2 separate regions of the Homo sapiens genome follow, and region 1 is linked to region 2. The links are contacts of gene promoters, found by promoter capture Hi-C in human tissues and cell types (Jung and others, 2019). All regions are on one chromosome and are shown on one strand. The core of a region is centred on a gene start or on the middle of the fragment in contact, and the rest is flanking DNA. Distances in the headings are between cores, read along the strand shown. Region 1 overlaps DLG1 (discs large MAGUK scaffold protein 1). Region 2 holds the start of RNF168 (ring finger protein 168).

Region 1 (5,171 bases), core at 109-2,608, 600 kb after region 2:
AAACGTATTAGGACGTATCTGAACTGCTGGCTACAAGTTAGTATGTATACGCTTATACAAGGAGAGATATTTAAAAGCTGATTTTTTCATTTGATATCCCCTTTCAAATTTTAACCTTTGTTTTCACCGCCACACTAGAAGTAAAAAGTGAGGAAGGGGTATGGGGGAAATTGGACTTCCTCAATCTCTTCTTAACATGCAATCCCTATAAAGAAAAACATTCATTTATAACTGTAATAAAATACATTAAACACAGATATTAAACCCAAGAGAAACAATTCTCAGAGGATGGATACTATTAATTGGCCTAAAGAAAAAGGGAAACTATTTTTAAGAAGGCCAGTTAGTTGTTTTAAGTACAATAGCTCTCTGGCATACTCGGAGGATTAGTTCCAGAACCCCACGTATACCAAAACCCGTGCATGTTCAAGTCTAACAGGAGGCCTTGTGGAATCTGACAGGCATATGGCATTTTCTATCCCAGTTTGGTTGAACAGCACGTGCGTAAGTGGACACTCGCAGTTCAAACCTGTGTTGTTCAAGGGTCAACTGCAGCACAGGCGCGTAGAAAAATACAGCAAGGGAAGTGGGAAAGCAGGAGACTGAAAAAAATTTTAATTACCTATCTACTACTGAAAATGATAAGAAATGACAAATGTCTGCAAATAAATGCCACTAGTCCACTGCAATCTTCCCAGATTATCTCCACCTCTTCTCCCTTTGGTTGGTATAAGAAGTAATAATGAAAATAAAGTCAGGACACTGGGTGTTAGAAATCTACCTTTGTAACTCAAGATTTCAATCAAAGCTTTGAAGCGCAGAAAAGTTAAGTGACTATGGCCTAACCTCTCTAGACTCTGGTCACTTGCAAAATAGGGATTATGCCACCAAACAGTTTTTTTCTTGCGAAAATAAAATATGTCACAAATATAAGACCTAACCAATGGGAAAGAGAAAATAAATTTAACTTATATATTGAGTTTCTTTCCAATTTATTTCTTTTATGGTATTATTACAATATAATTAATGCTTTCTGAACAAAAGATTGAGATATAAGCTCTGAAAGTTGGCCTAATACTCTTGAGGAACAATAAGATTAAATATTTGAGGTGAGAGATTCCAAGAGTTTAATGAGTAGTTGAAAGAGTAAGAACAGGGTATGGAGACCCACCCAGAACCCCAGAGTTGCCACAAAGATTTTAAGCTGAAGATATCTGAGATTCAACAGATGCAGGAAAAAAGCCTTCTCGGAGTTTCTCTAATCTGACTAAAAGGTGCAGCTTCCGAGAAATGAAGTTACCATAAATACCCTCTGAGGAGTCTGATGGCCCCGAAGAATGGAAAGACCAGTCATACCAGTTTAGACAAATGTCATCACAAACTTTATCCCCCATCTCTTCTCCTAAAAACTTGTCTTTCCTGAAGAAATGTACGTTTTTCTAATAAAAGCTGTTTCTCCCTCCTTCCTTTCCCTACTAGATTAGGTGTACAAGCTTTTAACTTCATCCACAAGCTAGCTTCAGTATTTCTTCTGTTGCCTCTTGCATCCATATACAAGAAACTTTTTTTCCATGTTAATCTGTTTTTTTTGTCAGTTTACTTCACAGGCCCGTTACTGAACATACAAGGGTGGAGGAAAAGGTTTTTCTTCGCTTAAAAGGGGCTAGAAGAAATCTTAACCGTTTAACAGTTGTGTAACTAGCAAATTACTTGGTCTCTTTATGGAAGAGCTTATTCAACTACAACGTAAAACGGGGATAACGGTGCTTACTTACAGGATTATCTTGGGAGTTAAAAGAGTGAATAAACATAACATGGTTCGTATCATGCATGGCGTACAGTTTTACTATTATATACTATCACAGGAGATTCTTTTTTTTTTTTTGAGACAGAGTCTCGCTCTGTCGCCCAGGCTGGAGTGCAGTGGCGTGATCTCGGCTCACTGCAAGCTCGGCCTCCCGGGTTCACGCCATTCTCCTGCCTCAGCCTCGCGAGCAGCTGGGACTACAGGTGCCCGCCACCACGCCTGGCTAATTTTGGTTTTGTATTTTTAGTAGAGACGGGGTTTCACCGTGTTAGCCAGAATGGTCTCTATCTCCTGACCTCGTGATCTGCCCGCCTAGGCCTCCCAAAATGCTGGGATTACAGGCGTGAGCCACCGCGCCTGGCCAAGAGATTCTTAAACTATAGGAAGTATGTGATAAAACTTTATAACTTTGGGATATGGAGTCCAAAACGAGTATAGTATTATATTTCCAGTTCCCATGTTCGATTATTTTTATTTTTATTTTGAGACGGGGTCTCACTCTGTCGCCCAGGCTCAAGTGCAGTGGTGAGATCATAGCAATCCTGCCTTGGCTGGGACTACGGGTGCGCACTACCACGCATGGCTAATTAAAAAACTTTAAAAAAAGTTTTAGCAGAGACAAGATCTTGCTATGTTGCCCAGGCTGGTCTCGAACTCCTGGGCTCAAGTAATCCTCCCACCTAGGCCTTCCAAAGTGCTGGGATTAGAGGCCTGAGCCACCACGTCCAGCTAATTTCTGATAATGATTCTCCAAAAAGATTAACAGTAAAGGCCCCCCAAAGTGAATTATTCCTTGCCTTTGGAATTAATAAAACTGAAAGGAGTTAGAAGATAATGTTCCTTCATATGTCTTGTAGAGATTATTTTTTCTCATAATCAGAATCCAAGTCAAGAAAGTTCAAAGTACACAAGCTGAAAAACCCATAAAAGTACTTTTTTGGAAGACTAATAAGGCAAACCATAGATCCTGAAAGATAAAAAACTTAATTCTACCAAAAGCTTACCTTTGTCTCTATCTGTCTGTCTTGTATGTATATATATAAGATTATCAACAAGGCAGAGAATCCCAAGCCTTTAGGAAAGATACTAACTGCAAGATGCTGATTATCAGAGTGTCGGATGACTCCTTTTGTACTTCTTAAAATCCGATTTGTGTTAATGTTTTTGTGTTGTGTGTGCGTGTAGCTAACCTGTTACTAAGCTTTGATGCTTTTCCCCACCTCTTATTATCTTTGTATGAATGTGAGGCTACTTTTAAATTACTTATTACTGGGGCTGGGGGCTGTGGCTCACGCCTGTAATCCCAGCACTTTGGGAGGCCGAGGCAGGCAGATCACCTGAGGTCAGGAGACCAGTCTGGCCAACATGGTGAAACCCCGTCGCTATTAAAAATACAAAAATAAGCCGGGCGTGGTGGCAGGTGCCTGTAATCCCACCTACTTGGGAGGCTTGAACCTGGGAGGCGGAGGTTACAGTGAGCCGAGATTGTGCCACTGCACTCCAGCCTGGGCAAGAGAGTGAAACTCCATCTTAAAACAAACAAAAAAAATTACTTATTACTTTGCTAGATTTTGCTAGAGTAGCTATTCCAGAAAGTCGAGGGGTGCAGGAAAGATAGAGGCACAGGACATTTTTACAGGTTTTAAAACCCAAATACTGTCACATTATCTGATCCTACAGAGGCAGGCTGCTTTATCCAAATACGGGTCCTCTGCTTTTCTAAACCAAACCACATTATGAGTGAAATTTTATACCATATCCTAAATTTGTGCCATCACAAACATTCTCAACATTCCATATTTTAACTCTTCCCCTCTTTCCGTGTGGCTTCTGCAAGACCTCAGCTGCTTAAGGAGTCTTTACCTCTACTTGGTTGTCCAGGTATCATACCTGCCTTCTTAGTTTTAGTTAATATTAAGTGAAGTTGTGTGGGTAGGAGCATGCGTGTATGTTTTGTTTTTCTTACTGCTTTTGTGTGTTCTGTGTGTTTTGAGGTTAGGGAGCAGATATTAAGTTACCCGTAACCATACCTAAAAAGTTTATATTCCTTATAAACATATAAATGAGAGGCTGTCTATAATACTAAGGAACCAGTGACTGTAACTCGGCTTCCATATAGTGTACCTACGGGGTGGAATATGTTGGCCAGAAGATAAAAGTACAACATAGGGTCCCATTGGCAGATTTGTTTCTCACAAAAATTAACGAATTGACATTCTGACTTCATACGTTAGTCTCTATTGTTTGGTTAATGTGAATTAATATTCAGAATTTACTCCCAATTAAACAAATTTTCCCCTGTTTAGTTACTAAGCCTAAAAGGCCAAGGTTTTACTAGATTGATAGAACCTCCCATACTTAAGAAAGACCAAGCAATGCTCAACATGCTGCTTTGATCAGCTAAAAAACATACTAGATTAAAAAAGAAATTCTGCTTCAAAAAAGAATAAATGTAATTAGTTGATAAATTACAGAATTACTCATTTAGCTCCTTTACTCACATCATCTTTTCCTTATTCATCATGTTGTTTATGAGCATCAACAAATATGCTATGTATTCTTTTGGGTATTTAAGCTTTCTAAATTCCACTGAGGTTTTATTGGAGATGTGGTTATGCTGATGTACACTAGAGTCTTACATATGTTTACTATGGCATGACCTCAAATTCTCCATCACCACCTTCTTCCCCCAGGAACTTAGTAAAGTCACATCCACCATACTTCACCATCTAGACACACAGTATACTCCAAACTTGGCATTCTTCTCTTTATTTTAAATAGCGGCAGTAACAGCTATTAGAAACATGTCTTAAATCTTGATATTAATAATTATAACCTAATTCAAAAGCTAGAAAAAATCTGGGTGACCTAATTTTTTTGGGCATTATTACTATATCTGCTTATGGTTTTTATTATTTTTTCAGATCAATAAAGTAGTAAAAGGGACATTAAAAGCTATGTCTTCAGTTACAGAACAGATTTAAAAAAGTAAACAGTTAAATTAACCCACATAATGGGGGTTTTGTGGGTTAAGCTTGTGGATGCCAGTTCCCACATCATTAAAAAATACTTTTGGCAGGGTGCAGTGGCTCACACCGGTAATCACAGCACTTTGGGAGGCTGAGGTGGGCGGATCGCCTGAGGTCAGGAGTTTGAGACCAGCCTGACCAACATGGAGAAACTCTATCTCTACTAAAAATACAAAAAATTAGCCGGTATGGTGGTGCATGCCTGTAATCCCAGTTACTTGGGAGGCTGAGGCAGGAGAATCACTTGAACCTGGGAGGCAGAGGTTGCGGTGAGCTGAGTTCGCACCACTGCACTCCAGCCTGGGCAGTAAGAGTGGAACCCCGTCTCAACAAAC
Region 2 (5,795 bases), core at 951-3,450:
TGAAATGGGGAGTCAGTGCCTCACGGTTAGAGTTTATCTGGGGTGATGAAAAGTTCTGGAAACAGTGGTGATGGTTACATTGTGAATGTAATTAATGCTATTGAATTGTACTTAAAAATGGTTAAAATGTCAGTTTGTTATATACATTTTGGACAATATTTTAAAAATAACGCAATATACCAAAAACCATTAAATTGCACACTTTTAAACATTTTACTGAATTTATGTTACCCAGACCGGCCTCAACTCCTGGGTTCAAGAGATCCTCCCACCTCCGCCTCCCAAAGCGCTGGGATTACAGCTGTGAGCCATCGCTCCCGGCCAACCGCACACTTTTAGTAGGTGAATTGTATGGTCTGCGAGCATTTGAATAAAGCTTTTTCTTTTAACTATTGTTTAAAAATGTTTAAAATGGCATTTTTTTACAATAAAATAAACGTATGTTTAAAAGGCAGGTACACATATAACTGTGACCAAAAAAAATTAGAAAAAAAAAAAAAAAAAAAAAAAAAAAGACCTGTCCACGAGAGAACGGAGACACCATATCCTAAGCCCAGACAGGAACCACCGCCCGGCTTATTGCTCACATTAGTGGAGGAAAGAGTCAAGGGTTCAGTTTGGGGCTCCTGAGTCTACCGGGTGCAGGGTTGAGTGATAAAAAAGCGACTTTAGCCTCGTCGCATGATTAGGAGAATCAAGAATTAAATGAATGGAGATGTATAGATAAGTAAATCAGAGGCCGGGCGCGGTGGCTCAAGCCTGTAATCCCAGCATTTTGGCAGGCCGAGGCGGGCGGATCCCTTGAGGTCAGGAGTTTGAGATCAGCCTGGCCAACATGGTGAAATCCCGTCTCTACTAAAAAACAGAAAAATTCCCCGGGCGTGATGGTGCACGCGTGTAACCCCAGCTACTCGGGAGGCTGAGGCAGGAGAATCGCTTGAAACCGGGAGGCGGAGGTTGCAGGGAGCCGAGATCGCGCCACTGCACTCCAGCCTGGAGGACGGAGCGAGATCCTGTCTCAAAAAAAAAAAAAAGAAGGCTCCAGACGGGCAATTCTTTAATTTTTAACACAACAAACACCCATCGAACACAGCGCGGGCATTTTGACAATGGACAAAATCTTGCCCTTGACTTTATAATCCATCGACATTTGGGGACCCATAAACCCCCTAACCTCTGAGAACTATTTAGACAAATACTAGTCGGGTTTTTTGGTTTGTTTTTACTTTTTAAATGGAAAAGTGATGATTCACCTTTTCAAAGACTTGCGGCTTTTGGCCAACAAACACGCCATGGTTTACTCACCCACTTCCTCTGATTCTTGGCCAGACGCTCTAAGCTTGCACTCCCTGGGATAGTGTTTTTGAATTATCGTCCACAGTTCCACGTTGACGAGAGAATTTCTTCGGGTATGGTACCGAGTCCACGACGATACCCGGCGGCGACAGAAGGGACAGCATAAACTCGCCTTTTCGACGGTCGACTGGAAGCACGGTTTACACAGCGTGTGGTTACACGGGAGGGTGACGGGCTCCACGAGGATTTCCATGCAGATCCCGCACTGGCACTCGGACAGCGAGGGGATGGCGTCTTTGGGTAGAGCCATTTCAATATGTTAGTAAAGCCGACTAAACAACGACACCTGCACGAAAAAGAATCCTATTTTCGGCCAACCACAGAGAGAGCAAAAGCAGTTTTGTGTTTCAGTATTATGCCCAGAAGCGTATCAGAATTCGGAGAACAGGAGCATCCAACACGTCTTGAAGCAAAAAGGCGCTCTCAGGGTCAGGCAAACAGGAATACCCCGGAGGGCGGCGTCTTTGTCCATTTTCAAGGCAAACGTCCCGCCAGCAAATAAATGCAGGTTTTCGTCGGAGGAGCCTGGCTGCTCCGCGGCATGAACACCGCGGCTGCGGCTCCCGGGGCAGCGAGGGGAACGCGCCAAGTCCTCTCCTCCCCTCACCCGGAAAGGATGCTCCGCTCAGCTCGGGGCAGCCGGGCCCCGGGACGCGGCTCCGGGAGGAAGCCCGGGCTCCGGCTGCAGCATAACTTCCGCTTTACCGCTGCTGCGGGGGAGACGCGCGACTCCCGTGTTCACCTTTCGGGCGCCTGGCGCAGTTTCCCAGAGCTCCGCGCCCCCGTCCCTCCTACGCAGCCAGAAACCCTATTCGTTGCGGCAGCGCAGCAGCCACCGGACAAGCGCTAGCAACGTCACAACCGCCCGCCAAAATCGCACTTCCCACCCAGAAAACTGCCCAAGGGCGAACGTTCCCGGGGCGGGACTTCCGGGGTCTGCGCGCCGCCCGCCCTCCCTCCCAGCCGGAGACGGTCCCGCCCTGGCGTCGCAGCCCCGCCTAGTGCAGCCTGGGTGGAGCCTGACCTTTCCCTGAGATTTCTGCGAGGCCTCAGACACCCCTGGTTTCTTGGTTTCTGGGTAGAAAAAGGGAAACCTCAAAACAAAATCAACAGCCAAACAAGGCCGGGTGCGGTGGCTCACGCCTGTAATCCCAGCACTTCGGGAGGCCGAGGCGGGCGGATCACCTGAGGTCAGGAGTTCAAGACCAGCCTGGCCAACATGGTGAAACCCCCGTCCTTACTAAAAATACAAAAATTAGCTGGGCATTGTGACAAGCTCCTGCAATTCCAGCTACTCAGGAGGCTGAGACAGGAGAATCGCTAAACCTGGGAGGCAGAGGCTGCAGTGAGCCGAGATTGTGCCACTGCACTCCAGCCTGGGGGACAGAGCAAAATTCCACCTCAAAAAATACAAATAAATAAATAGATAAAAGAATTGGGGTCTCACTGTTTTATCCAGGCTGGACTACAACTCCAGGGTTCCAGGGATTCTTTCGCCTCAGCCTCTGGAGTAGCTGGGTCTAGAGCTTGCAACTCCATAGCCAGCTCCGGACCTGCATTTTTTGAGGGAATCAATCAGTGTGAAGGAAGAGAAAAGAAAATCACTGTGCGTGAAAGCAGCCTTTAAGTTGTTTTGAGGCTGCTGAGAGCATTCAGGCTGGGTAGGGGATGGTTTCCAGGTTGAGAACAACGAGGAGACATCGGTCGTTGGTAGAAGTCTTTGGGAACTTTCATTTCAATGTGGGTTCAGAAACCTGTTATTGTCTGTGATAGCTCACACCTGTAGTCCCAGCACTTTGGAAGGCCAAGGCGGGAAGATCAGTGGAGCCCAGGAGTTCAGGTCCAGCCTGGGCAACATAGTGAGACCCTGTCTCTACAAAAAATAAAAAAATTAACTCGGTGTGCTGGCTCACACTTATACTCTCAGCTACTCTGGTGGCTGAGGTGGGAGGATCACTTGAGCCCAGGAGGTCAAGGCTGCAGTGAACAGTGATCGTACCACTGCACCCCAGCCTGGGTGACAGGGCAAGACCCTGTCTCAAAAAAAAGAAAAAAAAAAGAAACCTGGGACTGTCATCTGGTTGTCTACAGTAACAGTACCTTAGCTTGGAATTTCAGGCTTGTTTTTTGTTCGTTTGTTTGTTTTTTTGAGATGGCTCCTCATTCTGTTGCCCAGGTTGGAGTGCAGTGGTTTGATCTCAGCTTACTGCAACCTCCACCTCCTGGGTTCAAGCGATTCTCATGCCTCAGCCTCCCGAGTAGCTGCAATTACAGGCGCGTGCCTTGTAATACCACGTGCATTGTAATACCACGCCTGGCAAATTTTTGTATTCTTAGTAGAGATGGGGTTTCACCATGTTGGCCATGCTGGTCTCGAACTCCTGACCTCAGGTGATCCACCGGCCTTGGCCTTCCAAAGTGCTGGGATTACAGGCGTGAGCCACTGCACCTGGCCTTCAGGCTTCCTAATATGTCCACAACCTGCTTTTCCCATCGAATCTCCCATTATTCTTTTAAACATGCAACTATGATTTATTCTCTGTCATCCAAACGTTTTGCTTTCATGACATTGCTTTCTCGGTTCATCCTAAATGGGTTGCTTTGTGGCTGTGCCTACTTCAAACACCAATTTAATGCAGTTGGGCCAGGCACGGTGGCTCATGCCTGTAATCCCAGCACTTTGGGAGGCCAAGGAGGGCGGATCACAAGGTCAGGAGTTCGAGACCAGCCTGACCAACATGTTGAAACTCAGTCTCTACTAAAAATACAAAAATTAGCTGGGCATGGTGGCAGGTGCCTGTAATCCCAGCTAGTCGGGAGGCTGAGGCAGAAGAATTGCTTGAACCCGGGAGGCAGAGGTTGCAGTGAGGCCAGATTGCACCACTGCACTCCAGCCTGGGTTGACAGAGCAAGACTCCGTCTCGAAAAAAAAAAAAATTAATTCACTTCTTCCAGAGTGCACTTTTATGTGCAATTTAATGCACTCCCCACCACCAGTAATGCCCCTTTTCTAAACTCACCCAGTCATATATTGCCCAGTGATACTGATTTTTATTGCAGTTTTACTATTGAACTCCTGTATTTTGATTTCTATCTTCAGGTGCTTATGTCTTGTGTAATGGATATATTTCATGTACTTCCTCAGATTTCCTTCACTTTGTTTGCTTTCTGTACCCATAATCACTTGCTCTTTTTGGGGCTCACCAGTTGCATTTCCGGAATCTCTGGCTTCTCCTGCCACTTCTGAACAATGCAGGAGCTGACTTCTCAGAGGCTGCTAGGGCCTCGGTAATGCATGCTGGGAGGGTGGGGGGGTCACTCCCCATGGAGTAACTTTCACCAATTGAAACCAGTGGACTGACCGAGCACAATACTTAAATTCCCTTTTCTTCTTCCTTCCAAGGATGGTTTCTCCAGTGTGTCTGGAGACAGGCAAGACTGAGGGAGTGTGCCTGCTGAAAAAGCTGCTGTGTCTCTTGTGGCTCATTTTCAAGGAGGGGACAGCAAGGTAACACATCACCATGTATTACTTCACATCCTTCTCTACCTAACTTCCTTCCAGCTTTCTTCACTCTGGCTGTCCTGAATTTGTACCTCCCAAATAAAGCATCGGCACTTAATCTTTACCTCGAGGGCAGGATCCACATTTTTAATGTTTCTGTTATCCACAGTACCTAGTACATGGCATTTGGTATTCGATAAATATTATAAATAAATGGTCAAGATGTAAGAATCTCCTTTCTGGTATAAATAACTATGGTACTTCATTAGAGAACAAATACACATTAAGATACAATTTATAGGATCTCATGATGTATATTTTAGGTGTTTTTGTTTTAATTTATGAAAATAGAGATGAGGTCTCACTATTGTTACAGCTCTTACTCCCGAATTTGATGAGTTCTGAGTTGTTGTCCCATGACTGAGAAGAATGAGGTACACGGACACTGGAGAGTGAGTAAGGCAAAGTAGAATTTATTGAGTGACAGAACGGCTCTTGGCAGTGAGAGGGGACCCGAAGGTGGGTTGCTGGCCACGAGCCTGAGTCTATGGGTTTTTGTGGGCTAGAAATGGGCAAGTGCATGCTGATTGGTCTGTGGCTATGCTTGACAAAGCACCATTCAGAAATAGGCACGATAGTGTAGAGGACCAATCGCGGAAGGGTAGGTATGTATAAAATAGGTGAAGGGTAAGGACCAATCAGGAGAGAGGGTGCCAGACGAGAATGGGAGCTCTCAGTCTGGCTCATGGATTTATCCAGAACTCATAGCTTGGTTTTCAGGCTTTAGACTGTCCTTGGCTTGAAGGTTGAGTTTCACCAGGGACCCCTCCCTGTCTGCCTAGGAATTTACCTGCCTCCTATTGCTATCACTGTGTTGCCCAGGCTGGTCTGAAACCCCTGAGCTCAAGTGATCCTCCTACCTTGGCCTCCTAAGGTG

Evidence for each region. The method cuts DNA at HindIII sites, captures the fragments that hold promoters and counts their contacts. A contact is called where the count stands out against the background at its distance.
Region 1: a contact is called between a fragment that was not itself captured here and the fragment with the promoter of RNF168 in region 2, in 2 of the 25 tissues and cell types used here (dorsolateral prefrontal cortex and psoas muscle).

Annotation. Positions count from the first base shown.
Region 1 is chr3:197,099,519-197,104,689 of GRCh38, forward strand. All of the region lies in intron 14 of DLG1 (discs large MAGUK scaffold protein 1), which reads right to left. Among named protein-coding and RNA genes, the nearest start is that of MELTF, 72 kb to the left of the region's middle. The HindIII fragment of the contact is 3,098 bases long and covers 1-2,907 here.
Region 2 is chr3:196,501,568-196,507,362 of GRCh38, forward strand. RNF168 (ring finger protein 168) reads right to left here and starts at 2,201. Exons shown (of 6, transcript NM_152617.4): 1 at 1,306-2,201. The coding sequence starts at 1,606. It overlaps SMCO1 (single-pass membrane protein with coiled-coil domains 1), which reads right to left. Exons shown (of 3, transcript NM_001077657.3): 3 at 5,312-5,795. It overlaps LOC105374306 (a long non-coding RNA gene), which reads right to left and starts at 485. Exons shown (of 2, transcript XR_924896.3): 1 at 1-485. LOC105374307 (a long non-coding RNA gene) reads left to right here and starts at 3,785. Exons shown (of 3, transcript XR_924897.3): 1 at 3,785-4,644; 2 at 4,760-4,864; 3 at 5,235-5,325. RefSeq lists enhancers at 311-995, 996-1,679, 1,331-1,400, 1,441-1,530 and a silencer at 2,151-2,450. The HindIII fragment of the contact is 9,103 bases long and covers 858-5,795 here.